2 separate regions of the Homo sapiens genome follow, and region 2 is linked to region 1. The links are contacts of gene promoters, found by promoter capture Hi-C in blood cells and fetal thymus (Javierre and others, 2016). All regions are on one chromosome and are shown on one strand. The core of a region is centred on a gene start or on the middle of the fragment in contact, and the rest is flanking DNA. Distances in the headings are between cores, read along the strand shown.

The links. The method cuts DNA at HindIII sites, captures the fragments that hold promoters and counts their contacts. A CHiCAGO score of 5 or more calls a contact.
Region 2: a contact is called between a fragment that was not itself captured here and the fragment with the promoter of H2AC20 in region 1, in 8 of 17 cell types (erythroblasts, M0 macrophages, total B cells and 5 more). The highest score is 9.2, in erythroblasts.

Annotation. Positions count from the first base shown.
Region 1 is chr1:149,883,669-149,889,841 of GRCh38, forward strand. H2AC20 (H2A clustered histone 20) reads left to right here and starts at 3,250. Exons shown (of 1, transcript NM_003517.3): 1 at 3,250-3,743. The coding sequence starts at 3,307. The coding sequence ends at 3,696. H2BC21 (H2B clustered histone 21) reads right to left here and starts at 3,014. Exons shown (of 1, transcript NM_003528.3): 1 at 791-3,014. The coding sequence starts at 2,972. The coding sequence ends at 2,592. It overlaps H2AC21 (H2A clustered histone 21), which reads right to left and starts at 4,297. Exons shown (of 1, transcript NM_175065.3): 1 at 3,801-4,297. The coding sequence starts at 4,248. The coding sequence ends at 3,856. RefSeq lists enhancers at 1,617-2,210, 1,988-2,067, 2,478-2,567, 2,638-2,927, 3,248-3,317 and 6 more. The HindIII fragment of the contact is 4,135 bases long and covers 3,217-6,173 here.
Region 2 is chr1:150,173,909-150,179,670 of GRCh38, forward strand. The region is part of intron 3 of LINC02988 (long intergenic non-protein coding RNA 2988); the gene reads left to right. Among named protein-coding and RNA genes, the nearest start is that of LINC02988, 16 kb to the left of the region's middle. The HindIII fragment of the contact is 2,299 bases long and covers 2,895-5,193 here.

The DNA.
Region 1 (6,173 bases), core at 2,000-4,499:
AGTGAACATCATCCCCAGGTGGAGCCCAAAACCAGCAACTAAGGCTCTCTCATGTTAGTGAAAGGATTCCAGCTGGTGAGCCCCACCACTGTGGGGACAAACTCAATTGAGTTGAGCTATGGCCTCTGGGATGAAGGATCACAGCCACCTAATCCCACCCTCAATGTACTCAGCCACCACCACCCAGGATTTATATCCAGGGTGCACTCTGAAGAGAATAAAGCCAGTGGTATTTCTTTTCAATTCTAAAGCATAGATATTTCCCCCTAAAACACAGGAAGGGTCCAGGTTTTCAGAATGACCCTGTTTCTCAAGTCCCTTAACTGCTAACCTAGGAGCTTATTCTCTGGAGAGTTTCTGAAGAAAGGCTTCTCTTTGCCTCAGTTTCCTTATCTGTAAAATGGGTGATAATAACGGTACTACTTCCTGAGGTCCCAGTGAGAATTAGATGAGTCAATACATATAAAGGGCCTAGGACACTACCTGGCACGTAGTAAGTGCTCCGTAGGTGTTAGCTTAACTTTATTATGAACTTTATTTCTTCCATCTTATTTGTACTGCTGTCTATTTGTGATCATATATTTTTCAATTACTAAGCATTAACAGTGGCCTTGTAACAGACTATTTCAGCCCCAGTGCACCTTTGGGGCAGCAGTTTGGCTGGTGGCTTATAAATAGTCATCCCCCAGATCAGAGGCACCCACGCTTTTCTACAGACACAGTGGAAGTTGTATCTGTTAATTTCATTCATTGAGAAAATACACTGTAGATAAAAGAATCCAGCAAAGCCTTTAAATTAATTGGTAACTTTATTAATAACAATAGCATCTATACACATTTGAAAACACACATGTAGGAGACAGTTAAGATCTATTCAGTCTGTGATAATGTCTAGAGCTCATTTGGATTCATCAAACCCCTGCCATCAGCTCCAAAAGCCCTTAGCCAAAAACAGCTGAATCACTCATCAAACCATCAGTGTCTTCCTCGGCAGAATCAAGGGTTGGACAGAAAGAGTAAATATTCTGCACCTCCACAAAATAAAACTAAAATGCAATTGTCCTGCATCTGAGAATACAAGGGTGGACAGTATGAGCTGCATGACTGTGAACCAATGAGGCTTCTCTTGGCCTCATTTGTAAAAAGGAGATTAACTCTGTAGTCCCGCCTATATTGCATGGCCTCCAGAAAAGCAAATGAGGTGGTAAGTGTAAATTAAAAGCTCCTCTCCTTTAAGAGGGGAACACCATGAGGGGAGAGTAAGAAAAGGAGAAGGAAAAGGCTCTTTCCAGTGACCAACACGCTGAATTTGATGAAAATCCATAAGAGGTTATGCTAAACTGAGAAGCATAAGGGTGGATCTACCATTGCCACCTCCTCTTTGTAGCAAAAAAAATCTTAACACGGCCCCCTCCCAGCTGTTGCACTGAGGTGACTAAGGATACATTTTGAGGAAGTAGCTCCAAGAACATTTCCATTTTCACTGTGCCTTCACATACATCTAATGGAAATGAACAGCACCCTTCATCCATCCACGGAAGCGATTAAGAAAAGGGTGGGATGGAAAAATTAACCCAACAATATTAGATCAATACGTAGTATTTAAGTGTCCATAATGTGCCAGGCTGAAGATGCACGGGAAAACCACACTAGCCGGTCTGTCAAGGGCTTGAGAATACCATAAACAAGAAAACAGACGAACCAATTTCAGACAGCTGCTAGAAGGAAGATAAAATGAGACAGGCAAGTATGAGAGGCGCGAATTCCTGAGTGGATGACGTAGGTCTCTGAGAGGTGACTTTTGAGCCCGTATCTACATGGTAAGTGCCTCGCAGTGACCTGGGGCCGTAGCGTTACCATTTAAAGCACAGACCATTAAATGCAGAAATTATCAACAAAATGAGAAATAGGAATTTCAAAGTCTCAAAGTGAACGACGGAAACTGAAATCTACAAATTAGAAAAAGGCGCAGAATTTTGAATATTCTTGTCGCCCAATCAGGACAAGGCTGGGACCCGGCTGCGCGGCCTTCGTCCAAAATACACAGAACGGCTGGTATCCACAGGAGGCCCCATCGCACGGCAGAACTGGTGACCGGACACAAAAGCTGCTGCCAAGCGTCAGTCATACAGAGCTGTCACGCAGTGTTTGCGGAACCCGGGCTGAATTGTGTCCTGGAGTTCTCTTAAATGACAGCCGAACTCAGCCACTTCGTTTTAGAATGAAACAGACCCAAGGAGCCACCAGGGCGCGTGTGGGGCGGGAGTGGGGGCGGGTAAAGAGGCGGATTCCCAACAGCCTAATTGAGAACCGACTCCTGGGAAGGCTAAGCAGCACAATGAGTAAAGACACGCTCTAGATTCAAAAGCAAATCCAATGACGCACTGGGGACCTCGAGTTCCAAATAGTTAAAAAGCTACGTATGCCATTTCCCATGACCTTCACACTAAAATAACTTACTTTATGAAAAGAAACTAAGGGAATAAGTGAACAAGCTCTTTTCTAGTGATTAGGTGGGTGGCTCTGAAAAGAGCCTTTGGAGTCAAGCAGCCGGCGACTCGAGCGAGCGAGCGCCAGGTCCCGGCAGGGACTCACTTGGAGCTGGTGTACTTGGTGACCGCCTTGGTGCCCTCGGACACGGCGTGCTTGGCCAGCTCGCCGGGCAGCAGCAGGCGCACGGCCGTCTGGATCTCGCGGGATGTGATGGTGGAGCGCTTGTTGTAGTGCGCCAGGCGGGAAGCCTCTCCCGCGATGCGCTCGAAGATGTCGTTGACGAAGGAGTTCATGATGCCCATGGCCTTGGACGAGATGCCGGTGTCGGGGTGGACCTGCTTCAGCACCTTGTACACGTAGATGGAGTAGCTCTCTTTGCGGCTGCGCTTGCGCTTCTTGCCGTCTTTCTTCTGGGCTTTGGTGACGGCTTTCTTGGAGCCCTTTTTAGGGGCCGGAGCGGATTTTGCCGGTTCAGGCATGGTAAGACACAGTACAAACGCGGCTTAGCCAAGAAAAGAAGTAAGAGAATGGGCGGGCCTGATTCTTTTATAACCACCTTATGCAAATTAGGGCTCCGAAAGTCGTTCATTTCCATTGGTCCGTGTGCGGACCTTGCGTTTTCAGCAATGCGTACGTAACAACACCGACTCTTGACTTGATTGGCCGGTTCTGAAGCCATATTAGGACCAATGAAAAACTCGTTCTTGACCCCACCCCTAGGAAAGCTTATAAAGGCTTTCCTCTTGGTTCTCTTTCAATCTTATTTTGTTGCGAGGTTCTGAGCGTTGTCTGTGTTTAACCTTGATTTCAGTCATGTCTGGTCGTGGCAAACAAGGAGGCAAGGCCCGCGCCAAGGCCAAGTCGCGCTCGTCCCGCGCTGGCCTCCAGTTCCCGGTAGGGCGAGTGCACCGCTTGCTGCGCAAAGGCAACTACGCGGAGCGGGTGGGGGCCGGCGCGCCCGTCTACATGGCGGCGGTCCTCGAGTACCTGACCGCCGAGATCCTGGAGCTGGCGGGCAACGCGGCTCGGGACAACAAGAAGACGCGCATCATCCCTCGTCACCTCCAGCTGGCCATCCGCAACGACGAGGAACTGAACAAGCTGCTGGGCAAAGTCACCATCGCCCAGGGCGGCGTTTTGCCTAACATCCAGGCCGTTCTGTTACCAAAGAAAACCGAAAGCCACAAAGCCAAAAGCAAATAAATGCAGACAAACAAACCAAGACCAAAGGCTCTTTTTAGAGCCACCCAAGTTTTCAAAAAAAGAGCTAATGCGCTATTTCGTGATCAGCCCTTCATTTGACACTTTGGTGGCTCTTAAAAGAGCCTTTGGGGTGAATGAGTATGGTGTCAAGCCTCTTAATTACTTGTTCTTGCCAGGCTTGTGACTCTCCGTTTTCTTGGGCAACAGGACAGCCTGGATATTGGGCAAGACGCCGCCCTGGGCAATGGTGACACCCCCGAGTAACTTGTTGAGCTCTTCGTCATTCCTCACGGCTAGTTGCAGATGGCGAGGGATGATGCGCGTCTTCTTGTTGTCCCGAGCCGCGTTGCCCGCCAGCTCCAGAATTTCCGCGGTCAGGTACTCGAGGACCGCCGCCAGGTACACCGGGGCGCCTGCCCCGACCCGCTCCGCGTAGTTGCCTTTGCGCAGCAAGCGGTGCACTCGCCCCACCGGGAACTGGAGACCAGCGCGGGACGAGCGCGACTTGGCCTTAGCGCGGGCCTTGCCTCCCTGCTTTCCGCGTCCTGACATTACGGCTAAAATTGCAGTTACAGCTTCTTTTACAAGGAGAAGAATGTGGAAAGAATAACCAATTTGATGTAATTTATAAGAGCTACCGGGAGGGGTGAAGGGAAGTCGTTTGATTGGCTAAAAGCGGAGCCGTATCTAACAGCCAATAGAAAAGCAGAAAGCCGCCTCTTGGTTTGCGTCCTGCACTGAAAGGAAATGACGGATTTTGTAAGTATCTACCAATCGCTGAGAGCCACATTAAAGCCCCTTATTTGCATGCCAGGATCTTTAAAGAGAGCAGGCTTTCAAACAAAATACTGGTTTTGTTTTACTGAGAGGCACTGTGGGTTTTTGTTTTGTTTTGCTTTGCTTTGTTTAGTTTACAGCCGGGAAATCCCAATATGGACCCTAAGGAACTGCAGAAGACATCCTTAGACGGAGAGTTACTCTCACGAAAGAGTAGGGGATTCTGAAGCCGATGATCCCCTTGAGCTCTAAACTGCCAAGTCCCGCCCTTTCTGTCTCGTCACAGCCAAATTCCCTTTAAAAATACATGTACTACTAAGGCTGCCTCCTTTCTCGCCCCTAAACTTAAGTCGCCCGCAGCGGCGTGTCTCCGCCCCACCCCCACCCGCCTGCACTCCTCGGAATCCGGTTTGACCGAGGCTAGAATAGATTTGTCATCCTCCTCTTGACCTCCAGGAGGCGGCCTTCAAACTTGCTCCCTTGGCTTTCAAAATGTCGCCCTGTTTTTCTTCTTACCTCGCCGACTTTTCTTATCCTGCTCCCCCATGCCACTGCCCATCTCTAAATCTGCGAGTCCAGCTGGACTGTTTCCCTGTCTCCAATTCTTCACTTATCCCGAAGAGTCTTACCCATTTATATGCTTTCAACTAACGTCCAAATTTGTTTCAGAAGCTCAGACCCTTATGCCTAACTGCTTACAGAATACTTCAACCTACTTATCCCAACGAGCACCTCAAACTCAAACTCTACCTCAGCCTATCCGAACGCGAACTCATACAAACAACCTCCCCTCTTTGCCCTCTTTTCCTGAAATGCACCAGCATACTTACAGATACCTAAGCCGAAATCTACTCTACTCTTCCCTTCGTCTTAGCATATCCAGTCAGTTGCTTCCTTAACATCCCTTCAGACTTTTTCTCCATGCTCCCTTGTCCACCTCATCATCATCCCTTAGATTTCAGCAACAGCCGGGAAAGGGTAATTTTGCCGTCAGGCACTAATCGCTGGCATGACTCCAGCGGTCTTAGAAATCTTTCCTGAAAGCTCTCCTTTTTTTCTTTTATCCCATATAACAGATGAACCTGAAAGCTCTTGTGTTTCTTCCTCCTCAACGTCCCATCTCTGGGAGTTCTACATCTCCTACACCATTCTCACCCTTTCCTTAGTATCCCTTAAGGTCAGGTAGAATGCTAGAGAGAAAAAATAGACTTGTGGGTTTTTTGTTCGTTTTTTGAGGCGGAATTTCCTCTGTCACCCAGGCTGGAGCACTATCTCAGCTCACTGCAACCTCCACCACCGCCTCCTCCACCCCGCCCCCACCCACCCGGGTTCAAGCGATCCTCCCACCTCAGCCTCCCGAGTAGCTGGGATGACAGGCGCCCACCACCCCGCCTGGCTAATTTTTGTATTTTTAGTAGAGATGGGGTTTCATCTCTACTAATGTTGACCAGGGTGATCTCGAACTCCTGACCTCAAATCTCGAATGTTGGCCAAGGTGGTCTCGAATTCCTGACCTCAAATGATCTGCCCACCTCGACCTCCCAAAGTGCTGGGATTACAGGCGTGAGCCACTGCACCCGGCCAGAAAATACTTAAATCATTCTTTGACACTTTTCCTGATGTTTTCTCCTTTATTCTCACCAGTTTATTCAACTGGCATTTATTGGATGTGTGCTATTGGGCCATGGGTGTATAGATAA
Region 2 (5,762 bases), core at 2,794-5,293, 290 kb after region 1:
TAGTAAATGTATCTGTTAGTAAGGAAAAGACCAAAGCAATGCCGGGCAGTGATGTCAAAGTAACATAATACTGTAATCTACTTGACATTCTCTGATAATATACCACAACACTGCAGCCTATAATTTCCTACAGATTAATATGCCAAGAAGGTGCCAGTTACTTATTGAAATGTAAAATTCAGATGATTTCACTGGTGTGTGGTGGGAGCTTATGCACATGGGTATATAAACGTGTGGCTGCTTTCTCTCTTATTTCACAAAAGTCCATTGCGGGTTTTTTGTTCGTTTGTTTGAGATGGAGTCTCGCTCTGTTGCCCAGGCTGGAGTGCAGTGGCATGATCTCTGCTCACTGCACCCTCCGCCTCCTGGGTTCAAGCGATTTTCCTGCCTCAGCCTCCTAAGTAGCTGGGATTACAGGCATGCGCCATCACACCTGGCTAATTTTTTTGTATTTTTAGTAGAGATTGGGTTTCACCATGTTGGCCAGGCTGTTCTCGAACTCCTAACCTCATGATCTGCTTACCTAAGCCTCCCAAAGTGCTGGGATTATAGGCTTGATCCACCACGCCCAGCCTTCATTGTGATTATTAATTTTGGAGTACAAGCTGTCATCACACTGTCATCAAAAACATTTATTAAGTCTCCAAATTGCAAAGTATGTTTTGTTTTTGTAACTGTTTATTTACCTTTCTCCCAACTAGATGGTGAGCAGTTTACACAGGTGCTCAACAAATGTATTTTAATGAATGTCTACAAGAGGTTAACTAATTTGAATTTTTAAAAAAAATTACCCGAGGTGGGCGGATCACGAGGTCAGGAGATCGAGACCATCCTGGCTAACACGGTGAAACCCTGTCTCTACTAAAAATACAAAAAATTAGCCGGGAGAGGTGGCGGGCACCTGTAGTCCCAGCTACTCGGGAGGCTGAGGCAGGAGAATGGCGTAAACCCCGGGGGACAGAGCCTGCAGTGAGCCGAGATCGTGGCACTGCACTCCAGCCTGGGCGACAGCGAGACTCCATCTCAAAAAAAAAAAAAATTACACAGCACAATAGAAGCATAATAAAAGTATAACAACAATAATGAACCTATAAGAAGGCATTGAAGTTGCTGCCCAGAAAGTCAGTTTCCCGTTCCAGCTCTGCTCCTTGGTTGTTTGACATTGGGCAGGTCTCAATTCTCACATCTATTTCCTCATCTGAAAAACAGAATAACTCATGTTTGCTCTACTTACCCAGGAGGCTACTGTAAGAATCAAATGAATCCATCAATTTTAAGGTGTTTTACAAACGATGAAGTATTTTGCTGATGTTATTATTTCTTTTTGTTGTTGCTGTTTTGAGACGGAGTCTCACTCTGTCACCCAGGCTGGAGTGCCGTGGTGCCATCTCAGCTCACTGCAACCTCTGCCTCCCAGGCTGAAATGATTATCCTGCCTCAGCCTCCCAAGTAGCTGGAACTACAGGCACCCACCACCATACCCAGCTAATTTGTGTGTTTTTAGTAGAGACAGGGTTTCGCCATGTTGTCCAGACTGGCCTCGAACTCCTGGCCTCAGGTGATCCACCTACCTCGGCCTCCCAAAGTGCTGAGATTACAGGTGTGACCCACCGCGCCCGGCCTGCTGATGTTATTATTTCAACAGAAAAATTATTTTAGAAGTGGCATGCATTTTACTAGGATGCAAAACATGATTGGGGAAACAGACTCAAGAATTCTAAACCTAGGCAGATTGAGGTCAGGGAAGGTACCTCTCATCTCTTTAGTCTTGAAGTAGTCTAGAAGTAATCTACTCCTGGTCTCTGCTGTTTATTATTTGTCTTCTTTGAGCTTCAGTTTCTTTTTTTTTCTTTTTTTTTTTTTGTAGACAAGAGTCTTACTCCGTTGCCCAGGCCAGAGTGCAATGGCACGATCTCGGCTCACTGCAACCTCCACCTCCTAGGTTGAAGCGATTTTTCTGCCTCAGCCTCCTGAGTAGCTGGGATTACAGGCACCTGCCACCATGCCCGGCTAATTTTTGTATTTTTACTAGAGACGGGGTTTCACCATGTTGGCCAGGCTGCTCTCGAACTTCTGACCTCAGGTGATCCACCCATCTCAGCCTCCCAAAGTGCTGGGATTACAGACATGAGACATGGCACCTGGATCTTTTTTTTTTTTTGAGACAAGGTCTCACTCTCGCCCAGGCTGGAGTGCAGTGGTGCGATCTCAGCTCACTGCAGTCTCCGCCTCCTGGGCTCAAGGAATTCTCATGCCTCAGCCTCATGAGTAGCTGGGATTACATGCGTGTGCCACCACACCTGACTAACTTTCATATTTTTGGTAGAGACGGGGTTTCACCATGTTGGCCAGGATGGTCTTGAACTCCTGACCTCAAGTGATCCTCCCACCTTGGCCTCCCAAAATGCTGGGATTACAGGTGTGAGCCACTGTGCCCGGCCCTCAGTTTCTTTATATCATTCTCTCTGAGCCTCGTTTATGTTATATGTAACATGGTGATAAAATGTGCCTTGCCCCAGAAGGTTTGCTAGGGGGTTCAAATTAGATGATTGTTGCTAAGGTCTCTGTGACAGCTATAAAGTACTATACAAATGTAAAAAAATCTTGTATGAATTACCTGAAGGTGATGAGCTTTCAGAGACAGTTTCAGTAAAGCACACAGGCTGAGAGTATGGGAGGCTAACATTGGCAGTCACATCCCAGGAAAGAATAGAACATTTTGGTATCTATTATCTTGGGTTGGATTACACATTGCCTTAGGAACTCCATTGTGACAAGGCCTTGCAAAAAAGTAAAATGAAACATAGGCCCTTTCACATACATTGGCTCAATAAATCTTCCCAACACTGTGCCAAGTGGGAATTATGATGCCCATTTGACTGATGGGGAACTGAAGCTTGGAGATGTTGAAACATACCCAAGATTATGCAACTGGCAGATGGCTGCATCAAAACAAATTTCTCCAACTCCAGCAGAAAAGTTAAGAGCATGCTTACATGAAAAGGAAGAGCTGGCCGGGCGCGTGGCTCACACCTGTAATCCCAACACTTTGGGAGGCTGAGGCAGGTGGATCACCTGAAGTCAGGAGCTTGAGACCAGCCTGACCAACATGGAGAAACCCCATCTCTACTAAAAATACAAAAAAAGAAAAAATTATCTGGGCGTGGTGTTGCATGCCTGTAACTCGGGAGGCTGAGGCAGGAGAATCATTTGAACCCAGGAGGCAGTGGTTGCTGTGAGCCGAGATCAGACCGTTGCACTCCAGCCTGGGCAACAAGAATGAAACTCCGTCTCAAAAAAAAAAAAAAAAAAAAAAAAGAAAAGGAAGAGCTAGTCGGGGGTGGCCTTAAACAAATGGCCCATTTCTCATTCCTCCCTGACACAACTTTCTACCCAAGCCAGCAAACATTTTCTTTCACAAATACTTCTTTTCTCTTTTTTTTTTTTTTTTTGTTAGACGGAGTCTCACTCTGTCACCCAGGCTGGAGTGTAGTGGCACAATCTCAGTTCACTGTAACCTCCACCTCCCTGGTTCCAGCAATTCTCCTGCCTCAGCCTCCCAAGTAGCTGGGTTTATAGGTGCATGCCACCGTGCCCGGCTAATTTTTGTATTTTTAGTAGAGACAGCGTTTCACCAAGTTGGCCAGGCTGGTCTCAAACTCCTGACCTTGTGATCCACCTGCCTCGGCCTCCCAACATTCTGGGATTACAGGCATAAGCCACCGCGCCCGGCCAGTACTTCATATTTCTTACTATGGCTGGGGTTCCCAGAGAAACAACTATGACAACAGGTGGATTTAGGATACAACAGGGTGACGTCTGTGCACGGGCAGGAAGGCATTTTTACTGGAGCGGAGTATGATCAATGTTCACAGCTGTGGCAGCCTGCTCCCCTGAAAGATCTTTAATTGGAGAAGAAGTGGCTATAGCCAGCTTCACTCTGACCCTGTTAGAAATGCCCAGTTCTTAAGTCACATCCCAATTCTACACATAGACTCAAGGGTTTGCAGAAACACCCACTACTCTCCCACCTCCCTCCTCATAAATATGTTCATCCTATGGCCTAGGCGAGTCAAGAGTAGTCCGTCAGACACAAAGACACTAGTGGTCCCTATTTATGTATAAATCTTTTTCACCACCTAGAATTCTTCCTTCATTATTTTGTGTCTCTTCCCTTATTTAAAAGCTAATTTTAAAAAATCTAACTCAAATATCAAAAATTAGAAACAGCCCCAATGTACATCAATTTGGAGACCAATTTGGCTGGACTCACACCTGTAATCCTAGCACTTTGGGAGGCTGAGACAGGTGGATCGCTTGAGCCCAGGAGTTTGAAACCAGCCTGAGCAACAGGGTGAAACTCCGACTCTAAAAAGAAATACAAAGATTAGCTGGGTGTGTTGGCACACACCTGTAGTCTCAGCTAATCAGGAGGCTGAAGTGGGAGGATACTTTGACCTCAGGAGGCAGAGGTTGCAGTGAGCCGAGATCACGCCACTGCACTCCAGCCTGAGAAATACAGCGAGACCCTGTCTCAAAAAAAAAAAAAAAAAAAAGGAGACTAGTTTAAATAAATAATGAGAGCACACATTCAAACAATGGACTATTAAAAGAACAAAGTAGACAGGACATGGTGGCTCACACCTGTAATCCCAGTGCTCTGGGAGGCCAATGCAGGAGGATCACTTGAGGCCAGGGTTTGAGACCAGCCTGGGCAACATAGGGAGAGCCCATCTCTATAAAAAATTTAAAAATTAGATGGGCATGGTGGCACACTCCTGTAGTTATAGCTACTTGGAGGCAGGAGCAGGAGGAAGTCTGGGGTTACAGTGAGCTATGATTGCACCACTGCAATCCAGCCTGAGCAATAGACCAAGGCCCTGTCTCTTTAGAAACAAACCAAAAATAGATATAGCAAGACTGCCAAAATATAATGTTAAGTGAATTAGTAAAGGGAAGAGCAAGGTGTATAGTATGTTCCAATTTTTATAAAAAATAAATATTAAACATAGGCTTACAGTGGCACAAAAAGCTCTAGAATACACAAGAACTGTTAAGAATGGCTGACTCTGGTTAAGGAGACACTTTTCATTGTATTCCTTTAGTGCTGTTTGAATTTTACCATGGCATATATTACTAATTCAATTCAAACAAAACAAAAACAACTTTAACTAAACATGTTTTTCTACCAAAAGCTTTACTTGTCCACCCTACTTCCTAAGTATCTCCCAAATCTGATTACCACCCCCTTCCCACTGCCTCTGCCCCAGCCCAACTACAGGAGTGGACTGTGCTTTGCTCCTGAATTCCATAATCTCAAGGGGCATGTTTCCTTTAAAACATAATTGTTTAAAAAAAAAAAACACCTGGTTATCCAGACCATTTGGTTAAATTGAAAACTATCAAAAGGCATATTACCAGTCACACCTGGCTGTATCCTGCATTACAGAGCTGTTTGAAGGTCAATTTTGAGTTGTTTGCCCTGAGTGCCAACATTGCTACTCATGGTTTTGCCTCTACAGTTTCAGGCCATCAACCCCTCTCTCTCCAACGACTGCAACAGTCTTCTAATTAGTGTCACTAACTCTACTGTTTCTTATGCCCACACTGCAATTAGAGTGATCTAAAATTTTAAATCTGGCTTGGCGCAGTGGCTCACGCCTGTAATCCCAACACTTTAGGAAGCCGAGGCGGGCATATCACCTGAGGTCAGGAGTTTGAGACCAGCCTGGCCAACATGATGAAACCCTGTCTCTATTAAA